Linked DNA regions of Homo sapiens: region 1 is linked to region 2. The links are contacts of gene promoters, found by promoter capture Hi-C in human tissues and cell types (Jung and others, 2019). All regions are on one chromosome and are shown on one strand. Each heading gives the region's core, a stretch centred on a gene start or on the middle of the fragment in contact. The rest is flanking DNA. Distances are from core to core; before and after follow the strand shown. Region 1 overlaps DLG2 (discs large MAGUK scaffold protein 2). Region 2 holds the start of CCDC83 (coiled-coil domain containing 83).

Evidence for each region. Contacts are between HindIII fragments. The study calls those that stand out against the background at their distance.
Region 1: a contact is called between a fragment that was not itself captured here and the fragment with the promoter of CCDC83 in region 2, in 1 of the 25 tissues and cell types used here (H1 embryonic stem cells).

What each region holds. Positions count from the first base shown.
Region 1 is chr11:85,609,151-85,616,217 of GRCh38, reverse strand. All of the region lies in intron 2 of DLG2 (discs large MAGUK scaffold protein 2), which reads left to right. Among named protein-coding and RNA genes, the nearest start is that of DLG2, 15 kb to the left of the region's middle. RefSeq lists a silencer at 6,666-6,866. The HindIII fragment of the contact is 3,716 bases long and covers 1,347-5,062 here.
Region 2 is chr11:85,853,412-85,859,767 of GRCh38, reverse strand. It overlaps CCDC83 (coiled-coil domain containing 83), which reads right to left and starts at 4,385. Exons shown (of 11, transcript NM_001286159.2): 1 at 4,184-4,385. It also overlaps a transcript of SYTL2 not described here and the pseudogene AHCYP6. The HindIII fragment of the contact is 10,338 bases long and covers 1,104-6,356 here.

The DNA.
Region 1 (7,067 bases), core at 1,955-4,454, 240 kb after region 2:
AGAAGCTTGTCTGATGCTTTCCTTTTTACTGTATGAGTGTGGTAGTCTTTGAACAAGTGAATGGCATCATAGTGCAGTAGAGGAGAGCCCAGGATTGGAATCTAGCTTTTACCATCAGTTGACTACATTAAGCAAATCAACAGATAGAGCTTCAAATTTTTCCTGTTAAAACTTAAGTATAGTACTAATACCTCTTAGGATTATTGTGAGGATCAAATCAAGAGACCTAGACCATATAAAAATTATTTTGTAGATAAGAAACTGCTGTACAAAAGCTTATCATCTGAATGCATTTTTTTTTAGGGGGGTGGGTGGGTTCAAGGAGGAGAAATGTCAGAGTCCCCTTCCATCAGTGGTTTGGGTTCAGCTTCGTGGTCAGCTTCTGGAACAAGCCTGTCCAGATATGGCAATGATGCATTTGATCACAGATAGGAGATGCCATGCGTGTTTTTAAAAAAAACAGGTTATAACATTTCTTATTAAGATTATTTCTCCTCCAAAGATGCTAAAGTAATTTGTAAATCATCTAATATATACAAAATGATTGCAGTCTTCAGGTCTGCTTTAAGTCTTGCCATACATATTCTTCACTATTTAAATTCCAAATTTTATTTATTTATTTATTTTTCTAGATAAATAAATCTGGAATGATGCAAAAATCAGTATTTAGCTGAAGATGCAATTTTTAATCTTTTTTTTTTGAGATGGAATCTTGCTCTGTTGCCCAGGCTGGAGTGCAGTGGCATGATCTCAGCTCACTGCAACCTCTGCTTTCTGGGTTCAAGCGATTCTCCTGCCTCAGCCTCCTGAGTAGCTGGGATTACAGGCACCCACCACATGCCCAGCTAATTTTTGTATTTTTAGTAGAGATGGGGTTTCGCCATGTTGCCCAGGCTGGTCTTGAACTCCTGAGCTCAAAGTGATCCGTCTGCCTCGGCCTCCCAAAATGCTGGGATTACAAGCATGAGCCACATGCCTGGCCAATTCGTTGTTTTCTTACTTTCTGTTTACTGCTGCGTAGCCTTGCACATTTTCTATCATTCCCCTTTAACAAGTTTATAGAAAATTTGAAAGCATGGCTTGTCTGAAAGGAGAGATATAAATTTACCGTTTTATACTATTAATAATATCTTCTTGTTTCAACAGGGAAAATAACCAGATCAACAGGTGTTAGTTGAAGTATATTCAAACAATTCTTTTTTAGGGAGGGTAAAGTATAATTGCAAAGAATAATTATAGAAGAAAGAAGCATTGTGATCCTTTCCTAGTAAATCAAGTTTCAATATGGCATAATGCTTTGTATGGGCTTTGGTGGCAGATAGATCAGCATTTGCATTGTGGTTCCAGCACTTACTGTTATGTAGCCTTGGGCAAATGTACTCTATTTCCCTCAGTCTAAAATTTCCCCATTTGTGAAAATGTATATAGTAGTAGTTCTTAGGATTCTTTTGAAGATTAAATAAGGTGATCAGTGCAGAATGCCTAGCATTGTTCCACAAATGCTAGCTAATATTATTAGTAATAAAATGACACCTTTGTGGTATCACCTTGAACTGTACGTTTGTTTTATTTATTTGGAGATGGAGTTGCACTCTCGTTGCCCAGGCTGGAGTGCAATGGCGCCATTTTGGCTTACTGCAACCTCTGCCTCCCAAGTTCAAGCTGTTCTTCTGCCTCAGCCTCCTGAGTAGCTGGGATTACAGGCATGGGCCTCCATGCTCAGCTAATTTTGTATTTTTAGTAAAAACGGGGTTTCTCCATGTTGGTCAGGCTGGTCTTGAACTCCTGACCTCAGGTATCCACCTGCCTCAGCCTCCTCAAGTGCTGGGATTACAGGTGTCAGCCACCATGCCCGGCCGAACTATACATTTTAATGTTAATTTTTAAAAAAAAAAAAAAACCTGGTTCAAGACTAACTTTTCTGTTGCTATTCATTACTTTATTACTTTCTCATGAGTGTCCTTGATTTGTAAAAAAGCAATAACATCAACAATAAGAATTAAGCATATGTGAATACTTCTTAGTAAAATACTTTTGTGTCTGGAATGAGTGGATTCTGTCTTGTTGACTTCAGGAATGAAGCCACTGATACTCGTGGTGAGTGTTACAGTTCTTAAAGATGGTGTGTCCAGAGTTTGTTCCTTCTGATGTTTGGATGTGTCCAGAGTTTCTTCCTTCTGGTGGGTTCATGGTCTCGCTGACTTCAGGAGTGAAGCTGCAGACCTTCGCGGTGCATGTTACAGCTCTTAAAGGTGGCATGTCCAGAGTTGTTCATTCCTCCTGGTGGGTTTGTGGTCTTGCTGACTTCAGGAGTGAAGCTGCAGACCTTCACAGTGTGTGTTACAGCTCATAAAGGTGGCACATACCCAAAGAGTGAGCAGCAGCAAGATTTATTGCAAAGAGCGAAAGAACAAAGCTTCTACAGCGTGGAAGGGGACCCAAGCGGGTTGCTGCTGCTGGCTCGGGCAGCATGCTTTTATTCCCTTATTTGGCCCCACCCACATCCTACTGATTGGTCCATTTTACAGAGCGCTGCTTGTTCTGTTCTACAGAGTGCTGATTGGTCCGTTTTTACCAAGTGCTGATTGGTGCATTTACAAACCTTTAGCTAGACACAGAGCACAGATTGGTGCATTTACAATCCTTTAGCTAGACACAGAGAGCTGATTGGTGCATTTACAATCCTTTAGCTATACAGAAAAGTTCTCCAAGTCCCCACCTGACACAGAAGCCCAGCTGGCTTCACCTCTCAATCCCATCTCTAAACAGGACACCCCAATTGCTGTCGGGAATTTGGCCGATGACTGCTCTAGCTACTTTCTGCTGGATGGGGTGAAGAAGGGGCCCTGCAGTTGTGGTGTCCTCCAGAGGTTAACTCTTTAGGCCAGTGAAAGGACTGGTGGGTCAGTCCAGGGGTCCTCAGTAGAAGTTGTTAGTTGAGCTCATTTAGGGTTCCATTTGTAAGACCATCGGTAGCTTGATGGCCTCGATTCTAGAGGAAACAAATTTGACAAGCAGGTTAAAAATACAGGGCCCAAAGGCGAGTAACAGCAAGATGGCTGCCATGGGACCTAGAAAGGGGAGGAGCCATATTGCCCAACTCTAGAGGTTGGTAAGAGTTTGAAAGGCGTTTTCTGATTTCAGAAGCCTTTTCCTATAAACGCCGGACAGCATCTCATACTATCCCTGACTGGTTAGTATAAAAACAACACTCTACCCCTAAGAAGGTGCAGAGTCCTCCTTTCTCAGCAGTGAGGAGGTCTAGGCCTCGGTAGTTTTGGAGAGTCACTGCTGCCAAAGAGTCTGTTTGGGGTTGTGGTTACTATCCTTACTGGATAGATTTTGTTATTTCTTGCAAACTGTCTGAGAATTCCTGTGAGAGTGTGTGGTAGTAGGATAATGAAGTACATAAACCTGCTATTCCAGTTTCTGTAGCAGTAGCCATTCCTAACCCTATAAGTAGGGGTATTAGTTGTATGGCTCTGCGCTGATGGACTTGAGCTTTGAGGGGTACTGATAAGGTCTGATTTTCATAAGATTAGAAGTTAGGATAATATATGTTACACTGTAAACTTTTAGCAAACTTTACTTTTGTTGAAAACCTTGTAAGTTTGGGATTTCAATTATTCTTTGCTATTAGTAAGACCTCGTTCAGTCCATATTAACTTAAAATTGGTATAGATGGCTCCTTCCTGATTCTGTAAGTACTTTAAAGTTTGGCTGAGTGCAAACAGCTCGCACATTTGAGCAGACCAATTATTAGGCAATTTTCCTAACTCTGCTTCTACAAGAGTTTCCTCACTGAATATCCATTGTGTCTTTGTTTCCTTACTTGCCTGGGAGGAACCATCTATCATCCTGTCCTGAAGGGAGTTCCTCCTAGGTCTGGTCAGACCTTCGTATGATAATTAGTTAAGATTTAGATCCCTTGTTGGGAAACCTGCTGGGTTAAGGATTTTTGATAGGAAGGCTATGGGTTGTCAGTGGCCTCAGTGCTTTCGGGCTATGCCCTTGTTGACACTGACAACAAGGTGGTATTGGAGTGATATAGGGTTACAGAGAAGACCTTCAATTATCAATTATAGGTTTTAAATTTACCCTGACTTTTAAAGGAATAGGGTACACTGTTTTTTCTTTACTACTTCTATTTCTTTCTGTCTCTTTGACTCCTTTGTATCTTCCTCTCTTTCCTTCTCTCTTTGACTTTCAGTCTCTTCCTCTCTGTCTCTCTCTTTGACTTCCTATCTCTCTTTTTCTCTCTCTCTATATCTCTGTCTCTTCCTCTCTCTCTCTCTCTGCTGGTCTTTCCCTGCCTCTGCCAGCTGCTTATGCTGCTGTTCTCCCCTCTCCTTCCCCTTTTTGATGGCTTCGACAGTGTAAGACTGCCACCCCCTTGGGTTTTTGCACTGAGTGCAATAACTCCATGATTTCCTTGTGGTATTTAATGGGGGTTCCCCCAGAGGTTAGGAACTCCCTTTCTTTCCATATTGTAGCATAGGCATGTAGGATTAGATAAGCATATCTGCTATCTGTATACACATTTATTCTTTTTCCCTTTCCCAGTTATAAGGCTCGGGTAAGTGCCACTAGTTCTGCTAACTGGGCACTGGTCCCTGGGGGAAGAGGTTTACTTTCAAGTACGGTTACATCATTAACTATGGCATAACCTGCCCGTAGTATCCCATTCTCCACAAATGAACTTCCATCAGTCTAAGTGGACTTCTAAGAGATCATCTCGGGCGGCATAAGTTTGGACTATAAGTTTGGCAGTCATGCTGATTGGTTCCCCATCCTCTGGGAGAAAAGTGGCAGGGTTGAGGGCTGCACACATAGGTATTTGAAGCACCGGTCCTTCAAGGAGTAGTGCCTGGTATCTAAGTAGGCAGTTGTCTGATAGCCATAAACTTCCTTTGGCACCTAGTATGCCATTTACATCATGAGTAGTCCAGACAGTGAGATCTTTTCCTTGTATTATCTTGATAGCCTCTGACACTAAGATGGCCACTGCCACAACTACCCTTAAACAGTGAGGCCAGCCTTTTGCTACTACATCAATTTTCTTACTTAGGTATGCCACTGGTTGGGGGTTCATCCCATGAGCCTGCGTAAGGACTCCAAGAGCTATCCCTGCTGTCTCTGTGACATATAGAGATAAGTTTTGTCCTGTGGGAAGGCTTAAAGCTGGAGTTGTACTAGGGCCCGCTTTAAGGTTTTGAAGGCTGTTTCTGACCCTGGTTCTCATTCTACTAGATGAGTATTTGCCCTCTGGGGCTCCTTGATTAGAGTATAGAGTGGTCTGGCCATCTCGCTGTATCCGGGGATCCATAGTCGGCAAAAGCCCGTGATTCCAAGGAACCCCTGCAACTGTTTTAATGTCTTAGGGTGATGATAAGCCAGTATAGGCTGTATTCATTCCTTGCTGAGGGCCCTGGCCCCTCTGGCTAAGATTAAGCCTAGATATTCGACCTGCTGTAGGCAAAGCTGGGCCTTTGACCTAGATGCCTTGTACCCTTGATTAGCTAGAAAGTTCAAGAGATCTAGAGTAGCCTGTTGGCATGAGGCTTCCAAACTGGTAGCCAAAGGTAAATCATCCACATACTGAAGGGCCAGAGTGCCTGAACTTGAGAAGTGGCCTAGATCTTGGGCCAGTGCCTGACCAAACAGGTAAGGGCTATCCCTAAACCCGTGGGGCAAGATCGTCTGTGTAAGTTGGGATGTGTGGTCTGTGGGGTCCTCACAGGCAAAGAGAAACTGGGAGTCAGAGTGCAGGGGAATACAGAAGAAGGCATCCTTGAGGTCCAGAACAGTGAACCATTCTGCTTCCTCTGATATTTGAGAGAGCAGGGTATAGGGGTTGGGTACAACTGGATATAGAGGAATTATTGCCTTATTGATGAGTCCAAGATCTTGCACTAGTCTCCACTGACCATTCAGTTTTTGTACTCCTAGAATTGGGGTGTTGCAGTCACTGCTGCATTTCCTTACTAAGCCTTGAGCTTTTAAATGTTTAACAATATCTTGTAATCCTTTATGAGCTTCAGGCCTTAAGGGATGTTACCTTTGATAAGGAAAAGTGGTGGGATCTTTTAGCCTGATTTGGACTGGGCGGGCATTTTTTTCCTTCCAAATTATCCTTCCAATGCCCAGACTTCAGGGTTGATTCCCTTCTCAAGTAGGGGACAACAAATGGATAACTTGTTCCCCATATTCATGTAAATAATAGCTCCAGCTTTGGCTAATATATCCCTCCCTAATAAGGGTGTGGGACTTTCAGGCATAACAAGAAAGGCATGTGAAGAGAGCAAAGTCTCCCAATTACAACTGAGGAGGTGGGAGAAATACCTGGTTACAGACTGTCCCAGGATTCCCCGGATGGTAACGGACCTTGAGGACAGTCGTCTGGGACAGGAGATTAACACTGAGAAGGCCGCACCAGTGTCCAGGAGGAAGTCAATTTCCTGGCCCTCAATGGTTAAACGTATCCGGGGCTCAGTGAGGGTGATAACATGAGCTGGTGCTTGCCCCAGGCACCCTCAGTCCTGTTGTTGGGTCTTCTTATTGGGGGTTACTGGCCCAGAGAACCTCTGCACTCTGTGGCAGTGCACCTTCCAGTGATTGCCTCAGCATAGCAGACATGGACGAGGGGGCAGCTTGTTTCTCATTGGACAATCTTTTTTAAAGTGTCCTTGTAAACCACACTGATAACAAGCCCTACCGAGTGATTGGCCTGCTCCATTTTCTGACCTCTTTGAACCACCAAAGTTTGTTTGTCTGAGGGCCATGACTAAGGCTGTGGTCTTTCTCTGATTTCACTTTTCCTTTTGGGCCTGTTCCTCTTGGTCCCTATTATAGAACACTGAGGTTGCCTGGTTTAATAATGCCTCCAGATTTTGTTCAGGGCCCAGGGCTTGCTTTTGGAGCTTTCTCCTGATATCTGCAGCTGATTGGGTAATAAATGTATCTTTTAGAATCAATTGACCCCGTAGTGAGTTGGGTGACAGGGGAGTATATTTTCTTAAGGCCTCCCGTAGCCACTTGAGGAAGGCAGAAGGATTTTCTTCCTTTCC
Region 2 (6,356 bases), core at 3,136-5,635:
TCTTTGCCAAGGCCAATGTCCAGAATGGTATTTCCTAGGTTTTCTTCTAGAGTGTTTGTTGTTTTAGGTCTTACATTTAAGTATTTAATTCATCTTGAGTTAATTTTTGTATGTGGTAAAAGGAAGGGGTCCAGTTTCAATCTTCCACATATGGCTAGCCAGTTATCCCAGCACCATTTATTGAATAGGGAGTTCTTTCCCCATTGTTTGTTATCATTGACTCTGTCACAAAACCAGTAGTTGTAGGTGTGTGGCTTTATTTCTGGGTCCTTTAACCTGTTCCATTAGTTTATATGTCTGTTTTTGTAACAGTACCATGTTGTTTGGGTTACTGTAGCCTTGTAATATAGTTTGAAGTTGGGTAGTGTGATTCCCCTGGCTTTGCTCTTATTGTTTGGGGTTGATTTGGTGATTAGGGCTCTGTTTTGGTTCCATATGAATTTTAGAATAGTTTTGTTTAATTCCATGAAAAATGACATTGAATGTTTTTCCATTTGTTTGTGTTCATCTCTGACTTATTTCAGCAGTGTTTTGAAATTCTCATTGTAGAACTCATTTACCTTCTTGGTAAGCTGTATTCCTAGGGGTTTTTTTTTTTTTTTTTTTTTTAAGGCACCAAGATTTTTATTTACCCACCTTCCTGCTTTTTATTTTTTTTTAACATAAACATTATGGACCAGATTATTCTCTTTTTGACCCAGGGTTGTGATAGGAATTATCTTGTTACAAAGTGGTAGCAGATCTATGCTTGCTTTTATGTTTTTATGGCCCCTCTCAACCTCTGGCTATCAATTCTCTGTCCTTTCTCAGTTGTCCCTTAACAGTCTATTCTAACTCCTATAAAACAGAGACTAAAAGTACCAACCTCATTGTTATGAGGTGGAAGAGAAGGCCCAGCACTAAGTCAGGCTCTCAGGAAAATTCAAACAACAGTTCCTCTTTGCCCTTCAATATAGCTGCTGCTTTTCTGTCATGGGCTGAGGTACCACTGAACCTGTGAACCAAGCACACAGGTATAAGTCCACAGACCGGGTGAATGCCTAGATGGTAAAGTATATGGGCTTTGTGACTCCATTACCAACTTCCAGGCTAAGGAAGGACTGACTTAGTGAGAAGTTCCAAGATCATTGAATTCATAGTTCCCTGTGGCTGTCTCCCTTGTACCCCTATCATGACCAAGGCTTGAGGAGGGGCCTCTCAATTCCCCCTGCCACACTTGGAACAGTATGAGGGATGCAGCAGAGGCCAAAAACTGAGTGACCAGCCCCAGGGAGTCAATAGGGGACACTGACAAACCAATCACAAAGTGGGTGCCATTTGCTCTTAGGGAGGAGAGGCAGGGCCTGGACAAGGACAGCAGTTGGAAGGCGAAGGGCAGGTCTGGCTTTCAGTAGTGGTAGTGATCTGGCTTGAAGGGGCCATCACGGGACAAGTACAGGTAATGGGCTTGCAGCTCAGTCAGCTTGGTCAATTTCACATTCAGCTTGCCCAGGTGGGCTTCAGCCATTGCCTCATTCAGCTTCTTGGGCAGGAAGAGAACCATAACCTGGTACTTGTCTGGGTGGGTCTGCAGCTCAGTCTGCGCCATCACTTGGTTGGTGAAGGAGTTACTTATCAAGAAGCTGAGGTGGCCCATGGCACAACCCAGGTTGACCAGCTGACCCTCAGCTAGCAGGATGATGTGGTGTGCATTCTTCAGCTGATACCAGTCCACCTGGGGCTTGATGTTGACTCTCTCCACAGTATTCTTGTTGAGCCACTTGACATCAATCTCCATGTCAAAGTGTCCAGTGTTACAAATGATGGCATCATCCTTCATCTGCTTAAAGTGCCAGCCAAGGATGATGTTAACACAGCCTGTGGTGGTGACAAAGATGTTGTCCTCCTGACAGGCCTCGTCTATGGTGGCCACCTCATAGCCCTTCATGGCAGCCTGCAGTATGTTGATGGGGTCGATCTTGATGATGATGACATGGGCCTGAAACCCCACAGGGCCTGGGCACAGCCTTTGCCCATGTCGCCACAGCCTGCTACCACTGCTACCTTGCTGGCAATCATCACGTCTGTGGCCCACTTGATGCTATCTATGAGGGACTCCTGGCAGCCGGAGAGGTTGTCAAACTTGCTCTTGGTGACGGAGTTGTTGACATTGATGGCAGGCACTTTCAGGATCCCATTGGCCATCATCTTGTGTAGCTTGTGGACCCCAATCATGGTCTCCTTGAAGATGCCTCACATCCCCGACAAGAGCTGTGGGTACTTGGTGTGGATGAGGTTGGTGGGGGCCCAAGCGACATCCAGAATCACGTTGAGGAGGCCGTCTTTGAAGTATAATGTCTGCTTGGTGCACCACAGGTACTCCTCCTCTGTTTCGCCCTTCCAGGCGTACAACTGGAATGCCAGCCTTGGCAATGGCAGCTGCCTCATGGTCCTGGGTGATGTTGCAGCTGGACCACTGCAGCTTGGCACCCAGGGTAATGAGGGTCTCAATGAGGATGGCCATCTCCATGGGTCCTATGGAGGCAACTGGTGATGCGCGTGCCCTTCGAGGGCTTGGAGGGTTGAGTACAGCTCCCACATGCACGTCAGGCCCGGCATCTGGTTCTCCACAATATCCAGGGCTTTGCATCCCCAGAAGTCCAGGCCAATGTCAGTGACTTTGTAGGGCAGTTTGTCAGACATGCTGGTGGTGCTTGTGATAGACATGGCTGAAGGGGCCCAAGCCTCGATCTGGGGACAGGCACTGGGGGTATGGCACTGGGCAGGGGGTTCCCAGGTAGTTTATTCGTTTTGTGGCTACTGCAAATGAGATTGCACAGAACACATGTTTAACTTAATTAGAAATGGTCTCCAGTAAATGTTTTTAAAAATCCTGAATTAATTTAAAGCCATTCAGTGGTAATAGTACCACCTAAAACATTAATTTTAAAAATTGAGACCGCTTTTCATATTGATTATGTATATATGATAGGGACCAAAATTGTTAGTGTTAAAATGTAAAATTTGCCCGGTTTGGAAATATGTTAAAATCATATATTAAAATCAAGGTATTTAAAAATATCTAGATGAGTGACATTTTCAAGTTTCACTTGGACGACTGATGATGTACATTACATTAGCATGTATTTTCTTCACCAATCCTTTAGTCATGGCACATTTTTCTACTGCAGTACCCAAAGATATTGGAGTCTTAGCTTTAAAATTAGTCCGTCTTCTGATCCAGAGTTGCTAATATCAAATAGTTTGAACTGCAGTATATTACACTAACTTCTCTAGTAACCAGAACTACATTTTTTTCCCACTCTTACTGTCCTTCAGTTTTAGAATTATCAACAAAGAAAAGAAAAATAACTATGAAAATATTATTATGAGGATAAGGGAAAAATATGCAATAATAATGGTAGAGAACAAAAAGGCTTCTTTCTACCTTCAAATAGCAGTAGTGAGTCTAAAGAGGATCTTCTGGAGGTGGCTGTAAGGCAATCCATGAGCAATTATCACATAGACTGATAAATACCCAGTCATTATTTTTCCCCTCTGTCATCACAGGAATCTTTCTTTTCCTTTTTTTTTTTTTTTTTTTGGCTTAGATAGGGCACTTTTTCCCATCTCTTAATCACTTCCTCAACTCTCTCTCTTGCCCAGCAGAAAATTATGGGATAAGGAAGGGAGTGAGGCAACAACATGGCACTGTACAAATGTGACAAATTCATAAAAGAAACCAAGTGTTTTCTTTAGAAGAATGTTGTAGTATCCAGAGCAAGAAGTTGAAACCAATCTATGAATTGGGATATGAGGGTAAAAGACATCAATAACACACTTAGCACATATGAAGTACCTACAGCGGAAGAGCATTGCGCTGGTATTGAGAAGGATGCAAGAGTATGTGAGGTCCTCAGAAAGCATTCACTAGACTCAGAATTTGGTGAGAGAGGCACTAAGAGAAGCAAGACCGAGCTTAGTCCCAGCTCCTGCACAGAGTTGTATAACCTAGGCCAAGTCTCTGAACCTCTGACCTGTTTCCTCCTCCATCTGTCCTAGTTGCTGTCCGGGCTATGAGGCTCCAAACGCTTTGGGAAAACTGTCAAGTGATAAAGCCTCATAAGAATGGAAGGCATTCTTAGTCTGCTCTGCGTCTGCTGTGTGCTAGGGGCTGTGTGAGGGCACCGTGAAGGTTACAAACCTGAATCAAATTCAGAGCCTGCCTTTCGAGAGGGCAAATAATGTATCCAGGGGTTCTACCGCAAGGCGGAGAGATGGGTTAACATTCTGATCAGATTAAAAAGGCCTGCCCTCCTTCTCATCTCCTGGGTGGAGAAGAGGAGTGGGCCTATCAGAGCCCTTCCCAGCAGCTCCTAACGGCCCAAGAACGGCGCTTCGTGGACAAGACCAGGAGGGCGCGACCCCCAGGCTGATCTCGAAGCGGCGCAAGCCCAGGCCCGTGGAGAGTGGAGCCCGTGGAGGGTGGTCGGGGGGAAGCTTATAAAGTCTTCAGTGTCAGACTGGAAGGAGTCGGGGGCCAAGAAAAGAGGCCAGCCAGTCTCCTGACATCCCCTCCACAGCCTGCAGGGGCGGATACCCGGCCCTGGGCGGACAGCTCGCACTTCCTTTCAGCCCGCCGGCCAGGCCTACCGGCTCCACTGCAGCGGCTGCTGCGCCCTGCATTTCCAAGGCAACCGACGTCCTCCTCCCTACTCCCTCCCCACCCGCCCTAGCTTAGCCGCGAACGGCGGGCCGAGCGCGCCATCTGGTGGCGACGCAGGGAAGGGTCCCGGCCGAGCGCCCGCGCCGCCGCCTTGGTAGCAGCGGTAGCGCTCTCCCGCCTTCCTCCGCGCGGGATTTTCGGCGTCCCTCAGCCAGCTGGTCTCAAACGCTCACGCGCTCGTTGGCTCCCTTTAGTCGCAAGCCTGGAAGTTGGTGACTGTAGACACAGGGCCCACGGGCTTCGTGCTGTGACCGTGAGCAGGTCATTTGGATCTCAGAGTTTGTGTCTTCCGCTGTAAAATGAGACGCCTGGACTCGGTGGCGCTTTCCGCACAGTTCGGGGGACGGGGACGGGGCCTGGTTGTCTGGTGAGGCTTCTGCGCGCCTCTGTCCCGCTGCGCTCCTTCCACAATGGCGGCTTGTCTTCTTTCTACTTTCGTGCACTAATTCTTTGGTTTTAGCTCTTAATAAGAATGGCAGGTCCCTGGACTAAATGCTTACAGGGCAACTTCCTGCTGTATAAGTCCTTGATTCTGTTTTTCTTCTCGCTTTCCTTTTTTGTTCGTAAACCTAAAGAAAGGAATTTAAGTCCAGCATTTCCCACTCTTCGCTTTTTGCTGTTCTTTCCTCCGAGAGAGAAAAAGAAAATCCTACACGTACAGCCTTTAAAGTTCCTCTTTCCTCTCCTGCATTATTTCTCATTATCTGCCGCAAGATAATTTTCTTTTTTTGGTACTTGACACTGGCTTTGAACGGACAACTTTTTTTTTTTTTAATGAGTGGAAATATTCATTTATTCAGCACTTAGAAATAACAGTTCTTGATAATATTATGATTTATAATTTATACATGGTGTATTTTAATGAATTGCAGGTGTTTAAGAAATAAGTAATATAGCAGGGCGCGGTGGCTCATGCTTGTAATCCCTCACGCCTACAATCCCTCACGCCTGTAATCTCAGCAGTTTGGGAGGCCGAGGTGGACAGATTGCTTGCGGTAAGGAGTTTGAGACCAGCGTAGGCAACATGGCGAAACCCCATCTCTACGAAAAATTAGCCAGGCATAGTGGTGAGTGCCTGTAGTCCCAGCTACTTCGGAGGTGGAGGCCGAAGAATTGCTTGAGCCTGGAAGGCTGAGATCTCAGTGAGCCGAGACTGCCACTGCACGGGTGACAGAGCGAGCCTCTGTCTCAAAGAAAGAAAGAGTATGTACCTGGATATGTATTTTTATTTTTATTTTTATTTTTTACAGCTTAACGAGATTTTTTTATTTTCCTGACTTTTTGCTTTGGAGAATTAGTCAGTAGTTAAGGTCTATCTTGTTCGTTTACTATGGGGTTTGAATTTGAGATGGGGCTGACGTCACTTTGGGGCCCTTTTCTTTTCTTCTTTTTTTTTTTTTTTTTTATTGATCATTCTTGGGTGTTTCTCGCAGAGGGGGATTTGGCAGGGTCATAGGACAATAGTGGAGGGAAGGTCAGCAGATAAACAAGTGAACAAAGGTCTCTGGTTTTCCTAGGCAGAGGACCCTGTGGCCTTCCGCAGTGTTTGTGTCCCTGGGTACTTGAGATTAGGGAGTGGTGATGACTCTTAAGGAGCATGCTGCCTTCAAGCATCTGTTTAACAAAGCCCATCTTGCACCGCCCTTAATCC